Linked DNA regions of Homo sapiens: region 2 is linked to region 1. The links are contacts of gene promoters, found by promoter capture Hi-C in blood cells and fetal thymus (Javierre and others, 2016). All regions are on one chromosome and are shown on one strand. The core of a region is centred on a gene start or on the middle of the fragment in contact, and the rest is flanking DNA. Distances in the headings are between cores, read along the strand shown.

Region 1 (6,195 bases), core at 1,469-3,968:
TAGTAATTGCATGGGTTTACAACTTGTGCCTGTAACAGTGGCACTCAACTCATATTAAGACAAGAAGGAATTTATTATGGTAAGTTTCATAACACTGGTACCCTTAAAAACTTCAGAAGCTTGGTCTGGGGCTGTCATAAGTTAAATCATGGAAAGTGGTATATTAAGAAAAGAAAAAGGAATTCTACTTCCCTTCCTAAAGCAAATAATTTTTAGTAAACAAATTCTAGGAATAACGTACATAATTTTACAAATGATGGGCTGATTCTTGAAATTTCTCATCTTTTTGAGGGACTGTTACTGTAGATAATAGAAATTTTACTCTTTCTATTTACTCACATCAATACTTTGGGATGAGTCTGGCAATCATTATAAGCTGATGTTTTCTATTGTTCTTTAGTTCTTTAGCACAAAATAAAGAAGTTTGGGCAGCTAGCTGTTAATGCCCAAGGCAGAGTCATTTCATAAATCTTTTCTAATAAATGGATAGGGTAGAATTTTACTCTTATTCTCATTTTATGTGGAAAGTGATTGAAACTAAAATTTCAAACAAACAATGGATCAAAAAATTATTGTAAGATCCCATAAGGATAGAAATGCACCCTCCTTTAAAATTTCTGATGCTGAAAAATTTTAAAGGTAAATTAGAAGATGTTTCTTTGAAAATATTTCTTTCTTTGTGCGTGTGTGTGTTCATAAGGCTTTATCAGAGTGCTTCTGTTTAGTTAAGTGTCTTAGTCAGTTTGAGCTGCTATAACAGAATGCCATAGGCTAGGGGGCTTAAACAACAATTATTTCACAGTTCTGGAGGCTGGGGAGTCCAAGATTAAGATCCTGGCAGATTTCATGCTTGGTGAGGGCCCTCTTCTCAGTTTGCAGATGGTGGCCTTCTTGCTGTGTCCTCACAATGCAGAAAGGGAGAGAGAGCCAGAGATCGAAAGCTCACTGATCTCTTGCTGTAATGGCACTTATCCCATCATGGGGGCCATACCTTCATAACCTCACCTAAACCTAATTACTTCCCATGGTCCTGTCTTCTAATATTAGCACATAAGGGAGTCAGGGCTTCATCATCTGAATTTGAAAGAGACACAAACATCCAGCCTATATCAGTAAGGTTGTGAAACACCACTTCTATTTTGTTATTTAACAAATATTTACATAACACTTTACATGCACTGATGGTTTACACATATTAACAATCAATACTTCTAACAACCCCGTGAGGCAGGCACTATTATAAGCTCTTCTACAGGGGAGAAACATGAGCAAATAAAGCATAAATTACCAAGGGTCATGAAGCAAGTTAGTGGTATGGCTGAAACTTCAGCCCTGACATCCTTATCAAGTGATCTCTACAGCTGCAGCATCCAGGGAACACTCTATTCCTAAGGTAGTCCCACTTCTTCATCCTCGTGCCACTCCCAGCCCTTCTCATAGCAGTGGCAGAATATCTCCATATCCCTGAAGTCTGCATCCACCAGGAAGAATTAAGACAGAGTATTGTAGGCCTACAGCTTAATTTTTAAAGAGAGGGGGTCATTGAAATTGATGATGAAAAGTCAGTAATCCAGTGAGAAGGCATCAGCTAAACAGGCTTGGAAATGCTTTATTGACATTCCTCTAGAACTAAAATTTCCTCGATAGCTGTTTCTCTAGAGGGAACCAATCCCAGGATGCTGGTAAATACATATGGCATGGAAATGCAATTATGTTAGCAATCTAGTATGTATATATCAGACATGTCTGCTTGTGCTTAGAGTAGTAAACAAGCGGAGTCTCATTCCCTGCTCCTTTTCTGGTGGTGTCTATGGCCTTTTCTGCCCAGGGACAGCACTAGAAAAGGCAGACCTCCTGAGCCCAACAGGCCCCTCGCAGCTCCCAGTGACTTCCATGGATCAAAACACAGACTTCCATACAACAAAAAATTGATGCTACTGGAATTACTAGAGTTCGAGATGTTCCAAGATTTCAAAGAGAGAAAGGATGGGGGATTGCAACACTGTTAACTAAAATAAACACTGAATTGACCCTTGGCAATGGTCTGTTCCCGCACCCAACACCTGGCTCCACTACGTTGAAACACACACACACACACACACACACACACACACACACACACACACACGTGATATTTGCTTTTAAGATCATAAAACACCAGGAAGGAGACAAAAGCTCTTATGCGTCATCTGAGATGACACATGTACTGTTAAAGCGTGCGTTTATTTCAAACATTAATGAAATTTGCAGAACCCAAACTAAAGAGAGAGGATAGATAAGACATGCTGCAGTTCTTGCCCTAACTTTCAATCCCAACAACTGAAATGTCTTCCAGAGAAGTAACTCCCCCCGGTAAGGATGTAGCGCGGTCCCTACGTGGGTCTAAGGGATCTGACCCACGACGCACTGCACTGGGTTCACGAAGCGCCTCCTCGCAGGCGGTTATCTCGGTATCTCTGAGAGCGGCGGGCTCTCGCTCCCGCTCCAGGGATTCGGGGCAGAAAGAGAACATCCCACAGTTGGCGGGAGTTACGCAAGACAGTCAGACCCGGACGTCACTCGTGAGTGCCCCGACCCCCCTCCACCCCAGAGGCGGGGCCATCGCCTTCCTTCCGAACTCGGGATCGATCTGGAGCTCCGGGAATTTCCCTGGCCCGGGACTCCGGGCTTTCCAGCCCCAACCATGCATAAAAGGGGTTCGCCGTTCTCGGAGAGCCACAGAGCCCGGGCCACAGGCAGCTCCTTGCCAGCTCTCCTCCTCGCACAGCCGCTCGAACCGCCTGCTGAGCCCCATGGCCCGCGCCACGCTCTCCGCCGCCCCCAGCAATCCCCGGCTCCTGCGGGTGGCGCTGCTGCTCCTGCTCCTGGTGGCCGCCAGCCGGCGCGCAGCAGGTGGGTCCCGGCGCCCTGGGGTCCCCGGGCCGGACGCGGCTGGGGTGGGCGCCCCGCGCCGACAGCCCCGCTCAATCAGCGAGTCTCTTCTTCCCTAGGAGCGCCCCTGGCCACTGAACTGCGCTGCCAGTGCTTGCAGACCCTGCAGGGAATTCACCTCAAGAACATCCAAAGTGTGAAGGTGAAGTCCCCCGGACCCCACTGCGCCCAAACCGAAGTCATGTAAGTCTCGCCCATCGCTGCCGCTGCCACTGCTGGGGTCCCCGACTCTCCCGCTGCCCCAAACCCTGTCCTCAGCCCGACCTCCTGTCTCACGAGATTCCCTTCTCTCTGCAGAGCCACACTCAAGAATGGGCAGAAAGCTTGTCTCAACCCCGCATCGCCCATGGTTAAGAAAATCATCGAAAAGATGCTGAAAAAGTAAGTTATAATTTCCATGTACACAGGCGACTGGAGCTGTTGGTCAGAAATACTGGCGTCTGCCCCCTAAAAAGTAAATCAGGAAAACCCAGGGTTAGCTGCAGGACTGAAAAAATTATTATTTTCACAAAGTTGCCATTAAGGTTATTAATCTGTTCTGGTGCCAGAGGATATTCCCAGTGCCCAGGGTCACCACCCAGGTTCTTCCCTCCTGCCAGTGAATGTAGGTAAAACTGCTTTCATGTAAGGTCTCATTGGAGTTTGCCAGTTGTGCTGAAGTGTTTTCCACCTGTTAAAAAACACAAGCTTCATTTCCCCTAGTTCCTACTGACTTTCAGACCTGAAAAGCAGACCCCCTGGTTTTTTGTAAAAGTTTAGGGTTGAAGTGCAGAGATTTCACAATAATATTGCACTGGGTATATAACTGGTTGCCACCACCTATTAGCCATGTCACTCAGAGACAATATTATTTAGTTTATCTGAGACTCAGCAAAACAGGGAAAATAATGGTAGCTACATCATGAGGTTGCTTTGAGGCTCAAGTGAGGCCCAGTATGACAAAGAGCAATAGGCTCTGGCTGTTTTAGCCAGTAAAACAGTGTAGACTGCCACTCCTCCACCCCACGTCACCCCCATTCCTAAAAGAGCATCCCAAGCCTAGAGGTCCTTGCCACACAGCACAGCTGTCACAGGCAGTACCCACTTGGGTGCCAGGCTGGGGAAACTGCATTCAGAAAACTCTAGAGCCTGGGGAAACAGGACAGGAGAAGACTGTTGTGCAGTCAGCTTTCCTGAGCACCTACTCAGGGCACCCATTTTCTCATTACAGTGGCAAATCCAACTGACCAGAAGGAAGGAGGAAGCTTATTGGTGGCTGTTCCTGAAGGAGGCCCTGCCCTTACAGGAACAGAAGAGGAAAGAGAGACACAGCTGCAGAGGCCACCTGGATTGCGCCTAATGTGTTTGAGCATCACTTAGGAGAAGTCTTCTATTTATTTATTTATTTATTTATTTGTTTGTTTTAGAAGATTCTATGTTAATATTTTATGTGTAAAATAAGGTTATGATTGAATCTACTTGCACACTCTCCCATTATATTTATTGTTTATTTTAGGTCAAACCCAAGTTAGTTCAATCCTGATTCATATTTAATTTGAAGATAGAAGGTTTGCAGATATTCTCTAGTCATTTGTTAATATTTCTTCGTGATGACATATCACATGTCAGCCACTGTGATAGAGGCTGAGGAATCCAAGAAAATGGCCAGTGAGATCAATGTGACGGCAGGGAAATGTATGTGTGTCTATTTTGTAACTGTAAAGATGAATGTCAGTTGTTATTTATTGAAATGATTTCACAGTGTGTGGTCAACATTTCTCATGTTGAAGCTTTAAGAACTAAAATGTTCTAAATATCCCTTGGACATTTTATGTCTTTCTTGTAAGGCATACTGCCTTGTTTAATGTTAATTATGCAGTGTTTCCCTCTGTGTTAGAGCAGAGAGGTTTCGATATTTATTGATGTTTTCACAAAGAACAGGAAAATAAAATATTTAAAAATATAAAATGTTTGTTTTATTTTGGGGGAAACAAGGACTATATTTGCTGAAAAATCTGATGATTTACATCAATATTTATTTCTCAATTTTTTTCTGGGTTTTCAATCTGCTATACAGATAAACTATGAATTATGCCTAATTTCATGTGGTGATTGCTGTCACTCCCCTTGGCTCTCACCTAGTAAAGAATGTGCCTTACCAAACTATGGTCTTGCCCCTGATGGGAGAATCACTGATACATATTGCCATTTTTACAAGAAGTTCCTTACTACCTTGCTACTCAAATTTACCTCCTTAAAAATATGGAGGGGGGAAATATGGCAGAGACGTTTTAACCAGAGCAACTCCATCTTGAATAGGGGCTAGGCAAAATGGGGCTGAGGTTTACTGGGCTGGGCTGCATTCCCAGTAGGTTAGGCATTCGAAGTCACAGGATGAGATAGGAGATTGGCACAAGATACAGGTCATAAAGACCTTGCTGATAAAACAGGTTACAGTAAAGAAGCCAGCTAAAACCCACCAAAGCCAAGATGGAGACGAGAGTGACCTCTGTCGTTCTCACTCGTCATTATACACTAATTATAATATATTAGCATGCTAAAAGACACTCTTACCAGCCCCATGACAGTTTACAAGTGTCATGGCAACATCAGGAAGTTACCCTGTATGGTCTAAAAAAGAGAGGAACCCTCAGTTCTAGGAAATTGCCCACCCCTTTCCTAGAAAACTCATGAATAGTCCACCCCTTGTTTAGCATATAATCAAGAAATAACCATAAAAATGGCCAACCAGCAGCTCAGGCTGCTGCTTTGCCTATGGAATAGCCACTCTTTATTGCTTTACTTTCTTAATAAACTTGTTTTCATTTAAAAAAAATTAAATTCTTGTAGTTATCTTAACAAGGGATCGCATTTGTTTGCTTTTGCTAAATAATTTTTCATATAATTGTTGACAATTTAATGAAGCTGTCAATAAAATGGTGGCTAAAATATTTTGTTTTTCAAAACTCAAGTAGTTTGTGTCATAACAGAACCATAAAAAGTGAGTGGCTGAATACTTCACTTGTGGAAACTTCTGATTGAAATTTGGACCCAATGTTCTAACCTTCAAATATAAGTAACTAGCACTAAGTTTAATGTTGTTTCAATCCTTTATAGCAATATACCAAACACAATGCTTCTAAGATTTGACTGCATTAGTTTGCATCCTTCCTAGTGGAATTTTGATGGGACCTCATATAGCGTTTGCCCTCTGGGGAACTTTGTATTCAGTGCTGCCCCAGGATGACAGCAGCACACCAGGTTTTCAGGACAGAAACACAATTG
Region 2 (6,195 bases), core at 972-3,471, 34 kb before region 1:
TTCTAATGATTCTTAGTATTTCTGAGGTCTCAGTTGTCATGTGTCCATTTTTGTTCCTACTTTTATTTATTTGGGTCTTCTCTCTTTTTTTCTTATTCTGGCTAAAGATGATTTGGAGCTCCTTTATATGCTGCTTGCTTCTTTTCTCTTGCTGCCATTACAGTTTTATCTTTATGCTTGATCTTTGACAGTTTGATTAGTAAATACCTTCATTAGTCTTATTTGACTAATGTGATGCTCTAAGGCCTTCCTGTACCTGAATATTTATATCTTTCTCATGTTTTGGAAAGTATTCTCTTATTATTTCTTTGAATAAGCTTTCTACCCTTGCTCCTGCTCTGCTCTCTCTTGAACATCAATAATTTTTAGATTTTGTCTTTGAGGTAATTTTCTATATCTTGTAAGTGGCCTTCTCTCATTTTCATTCTTTTTTTCTTTTCTCTCCTCTGTTTATTTTTTAACAGCCAGTCTTTGAGCTCATTGATTCTCTTCTCTGCTTGACCTATTCTGTGGTTGAGATCCCCTGAAGAGTTTCTTAGTTCAGCAAATGTAGTTCTTAGTTACAAGATTTCTGCTTATCATTATTTCAATTTCCTTGTTAAATTTCTCTGATAAATATCTGAGTTGCTTTTCTGTGTTATCTTAGAGATAACAAAGTTTCCTTAAAACAGCTGTTTTGAATTCTTGGTCAGAGAGTTCACAAATCGCCATCTCAGGAGGGTCAGTCGCTGGAACTTTGCTTTGTCTAGAAGGTTATGGTTCCATGTTTGCTGTTGTTTCTTGTGGGTATACATCTATGTATTTGTATTAATAATTATTTAGTCCAGCTTTATCTGTCTAGTTTGGTTTGGTTTTTATTGAATACAGTTGCTTATGAATCTTAACTGCCAGCTTGCTGCCTTGTTTTCGGCTCTAGATGGCGCCATAAGCCTATGTTTACCTTGACTTTTGCAAATGGCCATGGCACTGCCTGTCCCATAAGGAGGAGGACCAAAGGGATTACCCTAGCACTGTGGGAAGGCCGGCCACGGGTGTGTTCCCAGGGGACTTGTGGAACATACTTGCTACATGATTTCTACTGATTTGGCATCTCCTTTGGTCAAGTTACAAGGAGTTTTTACGGCTGAGGATGGTAGTCCTGGCTTCCCTATTTGTCTTTGCCAGCCTTCACAGACATTTCTCCCTCCAGGCAGTCACAGTGCTACCTGTGGTTTAAGGCAAAGGCAGGTCTCCTGGCAGGAAACCGAAGAAGATGGGAAAGCTGGTTGACAATCTCAATTTCACGTTTTTCAGTGCAGAAACCATGAGTTGAGGGCAGATTTTTCATACTGCTGATGCCTGGTGTAATGCAGGGAAGAGGCCTCATGGATGTAGAATCTGGTTCTCCTACCATCTGCTCAGAATGTTTCCACTTCTCTGTACCTACAGGAACTGTCTCATCCTCATACAGGATCTCTGGGTTGCTGCTGGTGAAGATCTTGCTGCTGTGTATTTCTTTTTGGTTTCTGGTGGAGGGGAGAGAAGCAAGCTTGCTTCTATGCTGCCATTTTGGGATTAGAAAACCGATATGTGAACTTTATAACTAAGAATTCAAAATAGCAATTTTAAGGAAACTCAGTGACCTACAAGATAACATAGAAAAACAATTCAGATACTTATCAGAGAAATTTAACAAGAAAATTGAAATAATAATTTAAAAATGAAACAGAAATCTTGGAACGGAGAACCACATTTGCTGAATTGAAACACTCTTTAGAGGATCTCAATAACAGAATGGGTTAGAGAAAAGAATCAGTGAGCTCAAAGACTGGCTATTAAGAAAATACAGTCCAAAGAAAGAAAAGAAAAAAACAATAAAAAGAAATGAAGGCCACCTTTAAAATATAGAAAATTACCTCAAAAGACCAAATCTAAAAATTATTGGTGTTTAAGGGGGAGCTGAGCAAGAGCAAGGGGAGAAAAGCTTATCCTAAGAAATAATAACAGAGCACTTTCCAAAACTCATGAAAGACAGAAATATCTAGATATAGAAAGGTCAGGGAACACCAAACAGATTCAACCCAAGTAACACTAACCAAGGCATATAATAATTGAACTTTCAAATATCAAAGACAAAGAGAAGATCCAGAAAGCAGCAAAAGAGTAAAATAACAAAGCAACTCCAGTTCATCTGGCAACAGACTTCACAATGGAAACCATGTAGGCCAGAAGGAAATAGGGCAGCATTAACAAAGAGAAATTGTCTTTCACAGACAAAAGCTAAGAGAATTCACCACTACTAGACCCGTCTTGCAAGAAATGCTAAAGGGAATTCTTCAACCTGAAATTAAAAAATGCTAACATATTAGTGTACTAACTAAAAGAAAATATTTCAAGGTATAAAACCCACTGGTAAAATTAAGTATGAACACAACCCCAGAATATGCTAATAATTTAATTGTGGTGTGCAATCCAATCATAACTCTAGTAAGAAGCTTATAAAGACAAATCTATCAAAAACAATAATAGCGACAACAACCTGTTCAAAATAGATATTTTTAAAATATGCGAACTGATATAATAAAAATTCAAAGTGTTTGTGGGAGGTGTGGAGTTAAAGTGTAGAGCATTTTTTTCATTATTATTATACTTTAAGTTCTGAGATACATGTGCAGAATGTGCAGGTTTGTTACATAGGTATACATGTGCTATGGTGGTTTGCTGCACCCATCAACCCGTCATCTACATTAGGTACTTCTCCTAATGGTGTCCCTCCCTTAGCGCCCCACCCTCTGACAGGCCCTGGTGTGTGATGTTCCCCTCCCTGTGTCCATGTGTTCTCATTGTTCAACTCCCACTTATGAGTGAGAACATGTGGTGTTTGGTTTTCTGTTCTTGTGTTAGTTTGCTGAGAATGATGGTTTCTAGCTTCACCCATGTCTCTGCAAAGGATGTGAACTCATCCTTTTTTATGGCTGCATAGTATTCCATGGTGTATATGTGCCACATTTTCTTTATCCAATCTATCATTGATGGGTATTTGGGTTGGTTTGACATCTTTGCTATTGCTATAGTGCTGCAAGAAACATACCTGTGCATGTGTGATTATAGTAGAATGATTTATAATCCTTTGGGTATATATCCAGTAATGAGATTGCTGGTCAAATGGTATTTCTGGTTCTAGATCCTTGAGGAATCGCTACATTGTCTTCCATAATGGCTGAACTAATTTATTCTCCCACCAACAATATAAAAGCATCCCTATTTCTCCACTTCCTCTTCAGTATCTGTTGTTTCCTGACTTTTTAATGATTGCCATTCTAACTAGTGTGAGATGGTATCTCATTGTGGTTTTGATTTGCATTTCTCTAATGACCAGTGATAATGAGCTTTCTTTTTATATATGTTTTTTTGGCCGCATAAATGTCTTCTTTTAAGAAGTGTCTGTTCACATCCTTCACCCACTTTTTGATGGGCATGTTTGTTTGTTTTTCTTGTAAATTTGTTTAAGTTCTTTGTAGATCCTGGATATTAGCCCTTTGTCAGATGGATAGATTGCAAAATTTTTCTCTCATTCTATAGGTTGCCTGTTCACTCTGATGATAGTTTCTTTTGCTGTGCAGAAGCTCCTTAGGTTAATTAGATCCCATTTGTCAATTTTGGCTTTTGCTGCCATTGCTTTTGGTGTTTTAGTCATGAAGACTTTGCCCATGCCTGTGTCCTGAATGGTACTGCCTAGGTTTTCTTCTTGGGCATTTATAGCTTTAGGCCTTATGTTTAAGTATTTAATCCATCTTGAGTTAATTTTTGTTTAAGGTGTGAGGAAGGGGTCCAGTTTCAGTTTTCTGCATATGGCTAGCCAGTTTTCCTAACACCACTTATTAAATAAGGAATCCTTTCCCTATTGCTTATTTTTATCGTTTGTCAAAGATCAGATGGTTGTAGATGAGTGGTGTTATTTCTGAGGCCTATGTTCTGTTCCATTGGTCTGTATATCTATTTTGTTACCAGTACCATGCTGTTTTGATTACTGTGGACTTGTAATATAGTTTGAAGTCAGGTAGCATGATGCTTGCAGCATTTTTCTGTTTGTTTAGGATTGTCTGGGCTATATGGGCTCTTTTTTGTTTCCACATGAAATTTAAAGTAGCTTTTTCTAATTCTGTGAAGAAAGTCAATGGTAGCTTGATGGGATAGCATTGAATCTATAAATTACTTTGGGCAGTATGGCCTTTTTCACAATATTGATTCTTCCTATCAATGAGCATAGAATGTTTTTCCATTTGTTTGTGTCCTCTCATTTCCTTGAGCAGCGGTTTGTAGTTCTTCTTGAAGGGTCCTTCACATCCCTTGTAAGTTGTATTCCTAGGTATTTTATTCTTTTTGTAGCAATTGTGAATGGGAGTTCACTCAGGATTTAGTTCTCTGTTTGTCTATTATTGGTGTATAGGAATGCTTGTGATTTTCGCACATTGATTTTGTATCCTGAGACTTTGCTGAAGTTGCTGATAAAGCTTAAGGAGATTTTGGGCTGATATGATGGGGTTTTCTGAATATATAATCATGTCATTTGCAAATAGAGACAATTTGACTCCCTCTATTCCTATTTGAATACCCTTTATTTCTTTCTCTTGCCTGATTGCCCTGGCCAGAACTTCCAATACTATGTTGAATAGGAGTGGTGAGAGAGGGCATCCTTGTCTTGTGCCGGTTTTCAAAGGGAATGCTTCCAGCTTTTGCCCAATCAGTATGATATTGGCTGTGGGTTTGTCATAAATAGCTCTTATTGTTTTTAAATTTGTTCCATCAAGACCTAGTGTATTGAGAGTTTTTAGCAGGAAGGGTGCAGAATTTTATTGAAGGCCTTTTCTGCATCTATTGAGATAATCGTGTGGTTTTTGTCATTGGTTCTGTTTATGTGATGAATTACATTTATTTTTTTGCATATCTTGAACCAGCCTTGCATCTCAGGAATGAAGCGGACATGATCATGGTGGATAAGCTTTTTCATGTGCTGCTGGATTAGGTTTGCCAGTATTTTATGGAGGATTTTCGCATCAATGTTCATCAGGGATATTGGCCTGAAGTTTTCTTTTTTTTGTTGTGTCTCTGCCAGGTTTTGGTATCAGGGTGATGATGACCTCATAAAATGAGTTAGGGAGGAGTCTCTCTTTTTCTATTGTTTGGAATAGTTTCAGAAGGAATGGTACCATCTCCTCTTTGTACCTCTGGTAGAATTCGGCTGTGAATTTGTCTGGTCCTGGGCTTTTCTTGGTTGGTAGGCTATTAATTACTGCCTCAATTTCAGAACTTGTTATTGGTCTATTCAGGGATTCGACTTCTTCCTGGTTTAGTCTTGGGAGGGTGTATGTGTCCAGGAATTTGTCCATTTCTTCTAGATTTTCTATTTTATTTGTGTAGAGGTGTTTATAGTATTCTCTGATGGTAGTTTGTATTTCTGTGGGATCAGTGGTGATATCCCCTTGGTCATTTTTTATTGTGTCTATTTGATTCTTCTTTCTTTTCTTCTTTATTAGTCAGGCTAGTGGTCTATCTATTTTGTTAATCTTTTCAAAAAAAACAGCTCCAGGATTCATTCATTTTTTTGAAGGGTTTTTCGTGTCTCTGTCTCCTTCAGTTCTATTCTGATCTTAGTTATTTCTTGTCTTCTGCTAGCTTTTGAATTTGTTTACTGTTGCTTCTCCAGTTCTCTTAATTGTAATGTTAGGATGTCGATTTTAGATCTTTCCCACTTTCTCCTGTGGGCATTTAGTGCTATAAATTTTCCTCTAAACACTTCTTTAGCTGTGTCCCAGAGATTCTGGTATGTTGTGTCTTTCTTCTAATTGGTTTTAAATAACTTATTTATTTATGCCTTTGTTTCATTTAGTTATCCGGGAGCAGATTGTTCAGTTTCCATGTAGTTGTGTGGTTTTGAGTGAGTTTCTTAATCCTGAGTTCTAATTTGATTGCACTGTGGTCCAAGAGTCTGTTTATTATGATTACTGTTCTTTTGCATTTGCTGAAGAGTGTTTTATTCCAATTATGTGGTCAATTTTAGAATAAGGATGATGTGGGGCTGAGAAGAATGTGTATTCTGTTGATTTTGGGTGGAGAGTTCTGTGGATGTCTATTAGGTCTGCTTGAGCCAGAGCTGAGTTCAAGTCCTGAATATTCTTGTGAACAGTTTTGTTTTTTAGTTTTCTCTTTTATTTC

What was found. Contacts are between HindIII fragments. The CHiCAGO score rates a contact against its expected background, and 5 or more counts as called.
Region 2: a contact is called between a fragment that was not itself captured here and the fragment with the promoter of CXCL2 in region 1, in 1 of 17 cell types (megakaryocytes). The highest score is 6.7, in megakaryocytes.

The regions. Positions count from the first base shown.
Region 1 is chr4:74,095,718-74,101,912 of GRCh38, reverse strand. CXCL2 (C-X-C motif chemokine ligand 2) reads left to right here and starts at 2,718. Exons shown (of 4, transcript NM_002089.4): 1 at 2,718-2,892; 2 at 2,991-3,114; 3 at 3,229-3,312; 4 at 4,142-4,873. The coding sequence starts at 2,793. The coding sequence ends at 4,157. RefSeq lists a silencer at 6,027-6,195. The HindIII fragment of the contact is 3,135 bases long and covers 122-3,256 here.
Region 2 is chr4:74,129,165-74,135,359 of GRCh38, reverse strand. The region is part of intron 1 of LOC105377277 (a long non-coding RNA gene); the gene reads left to right. It also overlaps a transcript of MTHFD2L not described here. Among named protein-coding and RNA genes, the nearest start is that of MTHFD2L, 26 kb to the left of the region's middle. The HindIII fragment of the contact is 511 bases long and covers 1,966-2,476 here.